Linked DNA regions of Homo sapiens: region 1 is linked to region 2. The links are contacts of gene promoters, found by promoter capture Hi-C in human tissues and cell types (Jung and others, 2019). All regions are on one chromosome and are shown on one strand. The core of a region is centred on a gene start or on the middle of the fragment in contact, and the rest is flanking DNA. Distances in the headings are between cores, read along the strand shown.

What was found. Contacts are between HindIII fragments. The study calls those that stand out against the background at their distance.
Region 1: a fragment that was not itself captured here is called in contact with the fragment with the promoter of TRMT11 in region 2 in 1 of the 25 tissues and cell types used here (stomach).

What each region holds. Positions count from the first base shown.
Region 1 is chr6:127,063,315-127,066,299 of GRCh38, forward strand. All of the region lies in intron 5 of LOC105377989 (a long non-coding RNA gene), which reads right to left. Among named protein-coding and RNA genes, the nearest start is that of RSPO3, 54 kb to the right of the region's middle. The HindIII fragment of the contact is 4,129 bases long and covers 1-2,985 here.
Region 2 is chr6:125,985,036-125,987,888 of GRCh38, forward strand. TRMT11 (tRNA methyltransferase 11) reads left to right here and starts at 1,505. Exons shown (of 13, transcript NM_001031712.3): 1 at 1,505-1,587. The coding sequence starts at 1,516. RefSeq lists enhancers at 728-1,558, 1,536-2,025, 1,559-2,388. The HindIII fragment of the contact is 9,309 bases long and covers 1-2,853 here.

The DNA.
Region 1 (2,985 bases), core at 38-2,537, 1.1 Mb after region 2:
AGTTTTTACACTTTATGGTACTCCCCTCAGCTTCACAAGAACACTTTCGCTGGGGCTTTTTTTTCTTTTTTTTTCTTTTTTTTTTTTGAGATGGAGTCTCACTCTGTTTCCCAGGCTGGAGTACAGTGGCACAATCTCGGCTCACTGCAACCTCCACCTCCCCATTTCAAGTGATTCTCCTGCCTCAGCACCCCCAATAGCTGGGACTAAAGGCACACACCACAACACCCAGCTAATTTTTGTATTTTTAGTAGAGACAGGGTTTCACCATGTTGGCCAGGCTGGTCTCAAACTCCTGACCTCAGGTGATCCACCTGTCTTGGCCTTCCAAAGTGCTGGGATTATAGGCACGAGCCACCACACCAAGCCTTTGCTGGGGCATTCTGAGATATTCTGCTAGTGGGCCCTTCTCTGTCCTCTGCTCTTAATCTCAAATATATATTCATATTATAATTTTCTCCTACATTCACTCAAGATGGAGTTTTTATAGGTTTTTTTTTTTACTTGTTGCTTTTTAAGTGTGCCAGGAAGAGAAGGAAAAATACTCTAATTTGTATTTTTCCGTTTATACCAAAAGTCTGAGTTAAGAAGTTCATTGTTAAATGTTCTGATATGACAGGTTTTTTGGTCATTTTTGTTATTTATTTCCAATTTTGTCACTGAATGATAAGAAAATGTAACCTAAATTAAAAAGGATTTTGTTTATATGCCATATATACCTGTTACATACCTTAATAATCCTTTTAAAATAATATGTGGTCACATGTGTTCTCTAATTTAAGAGCAGAATTACATATGTGCCCAGATTATCAAGCTTTTTTATGTGTTGTTCAAATTTTCAAAATCAGTATTATTTTTAATCTGCTTGACTTATCAAATATTAAAAGAATGGTGTTACGTATCATGATGGTGGATTGGTCAATTTCTTCTTGAAATTGTGTCAATTTTTCTTATGCATAATAAGATTTTTTTTTTTTTTTTTTTTTTTTTTTTGAGATGGAGCCTCGCTCTGTTGCCCAGGCTGGAGGGCAGTGGCACGATCTTGGCTCACTGCAAGCTCCGCCTCCTGGGTTCACGCCATTCTCCTGCCTCAGTGTCCCGAGTAGCTGGGACTACAGGCACCCGCCACCACTCCCGGCCAATTTTTTCTATTTTTTAGTAGAGACAGGGTTTCACCGTGTTAGCCAGGATGGTCTCAATCTCCTGACCTCATGATCCGCCCGCCTCGGCCTCCCAAAGTGCTGGGATTACAGGCGTGAGCCACTGCCCGCAGCCAAGATTGTTTTGATAGAGGTGCACACGTGTTCAAAATTGTTACATCTTTCTGATTAGTATTTTTATGTATAATTACTTAGCAAAATTTTCTCTCTATAATATCTTTTGCCTCAAAATCTATTCTGTCCAATAATTATAAAGCTACACAAGTTTCCTCTTAGGATTTATTTGCCAAGTATATTTTTCCCATTTTTGTTTTTAATTTTTCTGTTCCACCAGAGATGCAATGTAGTGCAGTGGGGAAGACAGCAAGTCTTGAGCTCTCAGACTTCCTGTTAAGTCCCTGCTCTGTCACTTTATAATGGTATTATCTGGGGGGAAGTTTTTTAACACCTCCATGCCTCCGGGTTCTCATTTTTAAAACAGAGATATTAACATGGTATATATCTGCCTTAATTTTATATTAATCTTCGTGTTTGTTTGCTGAAAGGACTCAAATAGTGTTTACTCACAAAATAGCTTTATTATGGGTAAAGGATACAATGCAACAATGGCAAAACAAAGGTATTCATTGAAAGGGGTCTGGAAATCTCAGATGCAGGCTTGTCTTCTCACTATGGATTGCACTGAATTGACTTGTTCTCCTAGTTTTGAATCACCATCAAAATGTATGCAAAGCATCTTGGTACCAACAAGCTCAAAGTCTGTTCATGATGGGGTCTGTTATAGAGAGGTGGTCACATAGGCACATTCCAGCTATGTGATCATCCTAAATTACAAAAATTACCCAGGTTGCACCAAACACAGATGCAAATCATCAATTACAAAACAGTGTTGACAAATTGATGCATCCACATGGTTATAGAACATAATTTATCACTAGTTAAAATATATTATAACATTGGCCAAGGGTGATTACTCCAGGTAGTTCTGGACATAAGCATGAGGTCAACCCAGCTGAATACTATGTCAAAAGGCTTTTGTGAGATTTGAAGAAGTTACAATTCTAAGCACTGTGCTTATTCCTAGGTAAATACTAGCTATTTTTTGTTATGCTTAAGGTGTGATTCTTATAATTGAATTTATTCTTTTTGTTATACCTGAGATTATTTGCCTTTAACTATAGAGTTTGCTCTTGGCTGGGTGGGTTGGCTCACACTTGTAATCCCAGCACTGAGGAATTACCCAGAATGCAGCACATAAACATAACAAGATTCAAAACAGTACAGACTAGACACATAGGGCCTAGAGTGAGAGTGAGGAGATGCAGTATTTGTTAAACAGGGTGGTAAGCCCAATATACAAAGATAATTTCTCAGAAGTGATGAAAGACAAGAACACTTATATTAAAAACAACAACAACTCATCGAGTCTCAATCAGGACATATGAGAATAAATATGTACCTGTAAATACTGTAATGAACTGCAAAATCACTAAAGATTAAAATAATTCTTCAAAGCAACTAAAGATAAAAAATGTATTACCTAGTCCAGTCACAGTGACTCACGCCTGTAATCTCAGCACTTTGGGAGTCCTCAGCAGACAGATCATGAGGTCAGGAGATCAAGACCATCCTGGCTAACACGGTGAATCCCCATCTCCTCTAAAAATACAAAAAAATTAGCCGGGCATGGTGGCACACACCTGTAGTCCCAGCTACTCGGGAGGCTGAGGCAGAATTGCTTGAACCCAGGATGTGGAGGTTGCAGTGAGCTGAGATCGCGCCAATGCACTCCAGCCTGAGCAACAGAGCAAGACTACTTCTCTAA
Region 2 (2,853 bases), core at 255-2,754:
ATTTCCCCAACATCTCATTGGTTTTCTGTCCCAACCTTGGCCTCTCTTCTCAAATAGTAAACAACTTTTCTTGTCTCAAAGTACTTTTACCCCCTTTTCTGAAGTTTTGGGGTCAAGAGACAGCTATGCTTCTCAGAGTCACTTAGCACAAGTGAACTTGAGACATATTCCTAACAAAAACAGATCTCTTGCTAACAAAAATTCTCATGTGATTTTCTTAAGAAAAATGTCAAGTGCCACTTATTGGCCCCATTCAATATGCCAGATGTTATATTCAACACTTTATGAACATTATTCCACTTAATCCTTGTAACAATCCTTTGCAGGAGGCAGTGTGTTTTTCCATTTTTAAAAGAAAACTCAAGCTCGGAGAGGTTAAGAGCATATACATGGTAAATGGTGGAAGTGAGGTTTGAATCTAATATTGACACCACAGCCTATGTTCTTAATCACTACCACTGCGCATCAACTACGTTTCTGGCACATGCCGCTGGGGATATGCCAGATACATACTCTTTTGCACCTTGTACAATACCACAGAGAAATGCAAAATAAATAATTTTTAATAGGGCAAAGGGCTCGGTACTCTCAAAAGCAGAAATAGCCCAGAGGGAGGGCTTGAGCCCGTAATTCTAGCACTTTGGGAGACTAGGGTAGGAGTATCCCCTGAGACCAGGAGTTCAAGGTTACAGTGAGCTATGATTGCGCCACTGCACTCACCTGGGTGACAGAGCAAGATTGTCTTAAAAAAAAAAAGTCACATATATACATAGAATATGCAATTAAAATATATTTCATAAACTATCTGCTATGAAATCTGTGCCAGTGTGAGCTTTCTCCAAGTTTTAATTTATGGCTGGCTGTGGATTTAGTCCTGAGTCTAACAAATAACACAACCTAATAATTATTGCCTACTTTGAGGAAGATATTCTTTTGGTTTTTGTTAAGAATAGAGTGAACCATAAAAGATTATATCAGACCTCAAGAGTTTATTATAATTGGGTTATAAGGCATGTGCTCTCGAAAAGTTGTTACATAAATACGAAAAATATACTGTTAAATGACTGGCCCAACTAAATCAGTTCCCAAAGCTGTGCTGGTTAGACAAACCTACAAGGAAATGGTGAAATTTCCAAGGAAATGGTGAAATTTCAGTCCAATTTTGAAGAACAGGTTTTGAAGGGCTGTAGAGAAAGCTGGAAGCACACTCCAAGTGGAACGATAACTTGGAAATATACTGTCTTATTATCACAGGCTGCTCCTGAAAGCCACGCGTCCCCGCTCACCAGCTACCAGCGCTGGGAGACCCCTAACCACCAGGCATTCACAGGTGAGGAAGCCCCTCCCACAGCGGCCGGAGTTTCGGACTCGGAGCGCGAGAAACGTCGGGATAGCGCCTGCCTCGCAGAGCTTCCGCTTCCGGCCCTTCAGGCTCTGTCTCTGTGGAGACTGGGCTTTGGGAGGGAGAAAGAGGGACCTAGCGCGGGCCGCGCAGGCGCACGGTGGGCAGCTGCAATGGCGCTGTCGTGTACCCTTAACAGGTATCTGCTCCTCATGGCGCAGGAGCATCTGGAGTTCCGCCTGCCGGTGAGTCCGTAGCGCCCTCCGGAACTTCCGACGGAAGAGGACGCTGGAGTGGAGTGGAGTGGGTGGAGGTGATCTGCATAGCCCGAGGAAGCTGGGATTCGGGGGTCTTCGCTGGTCTGCGCGGGTCACGCGTCCCCAGTCCTCGGGCGGGGTGAGCTTGGCGGAGGGTGTGTGTGAGAGAAGTCCGAGACCAAACCCCTCGGCCTGCTTAAACTTTTCATTCTTTTGCCCGTGTATCAAGTACCGGAGTTAGGCAGGTGAATATGACCGGTCATCTCACTCCCGGAGCTCTTCGTCTAGCGGAGAATAGAGACAGCTAACAAATGCTCAGGCTGGTGTTTGAAGTATTGGAATCTGCGGATCAAGCTCAGTGGAGGGGATGGTGGTGGGGATTAGATGATGGAGAAGTTGAGAAGAGTGTTTTATTTATTCAAGAAACGTTTTCAGAATGCATGTAGTCGAAGATCGGTACGCTGGGCATGTAACGATGATGTAAGCAATCTCTGCCCTCTAGGAGCTTACTGTTTAGAGTAAGGGCTGAGCAGACACATAGGCGTAGAATGACAAAAGAGCGTCGGTAAGTGCAGTGATAGATGCACATGGAAATATGAGAGCACGTGGAAGGGAAATCTAATCTACCTGAGGGGTTGGGGATGTTGGCCTTTAAGAGGGCTTCCAGAGGAGATGACACTTGAAATAAAGGATGAATAGGAGTTAGAGGGCCAAGGAGATAAATCAGTAAATTAGAATTACAAGGTGTTCATTATTACTGGATCACTAGTTATGTGGCAGAGTGGTAAGAAGAGAGCAAGGGAAGTAGATCGAGGCCAGAAAATGAAAACCTTGAGTACCCTGGAGCTTGGAAGGGGGATTTATTGAAAAGCCTTAAGTAAAAAAGTGACCACAAAATTAAATCAGTTTGACAACACTATGGAGGATGGATTTGAAAAGAATAAGACTTGAGCCAGAGACTAGGAGTCTGTGGGAATAGTCTTGTTAATAGATTAAGAAGGTCTGACCTAGGGCAAGGAGTAAGAGGATGGGATAGACTGGGAAAATATTTAGGCCATACAGTCATTAAGGCTGGATTGATTGAATATGTGGGAAAGGGGCACCAGTCAGGTATGACTCCTGGGGTGTATATAGGTAGGAGTGTCTCCATTTAAAATAGAGAACATAGGCAGATGTAAGATTTAAATTTTGTTTACACTGAATTTGATGTGGTTGTGTAACATCAACCTGAGATGACCAAGAGGCGGTGGATAT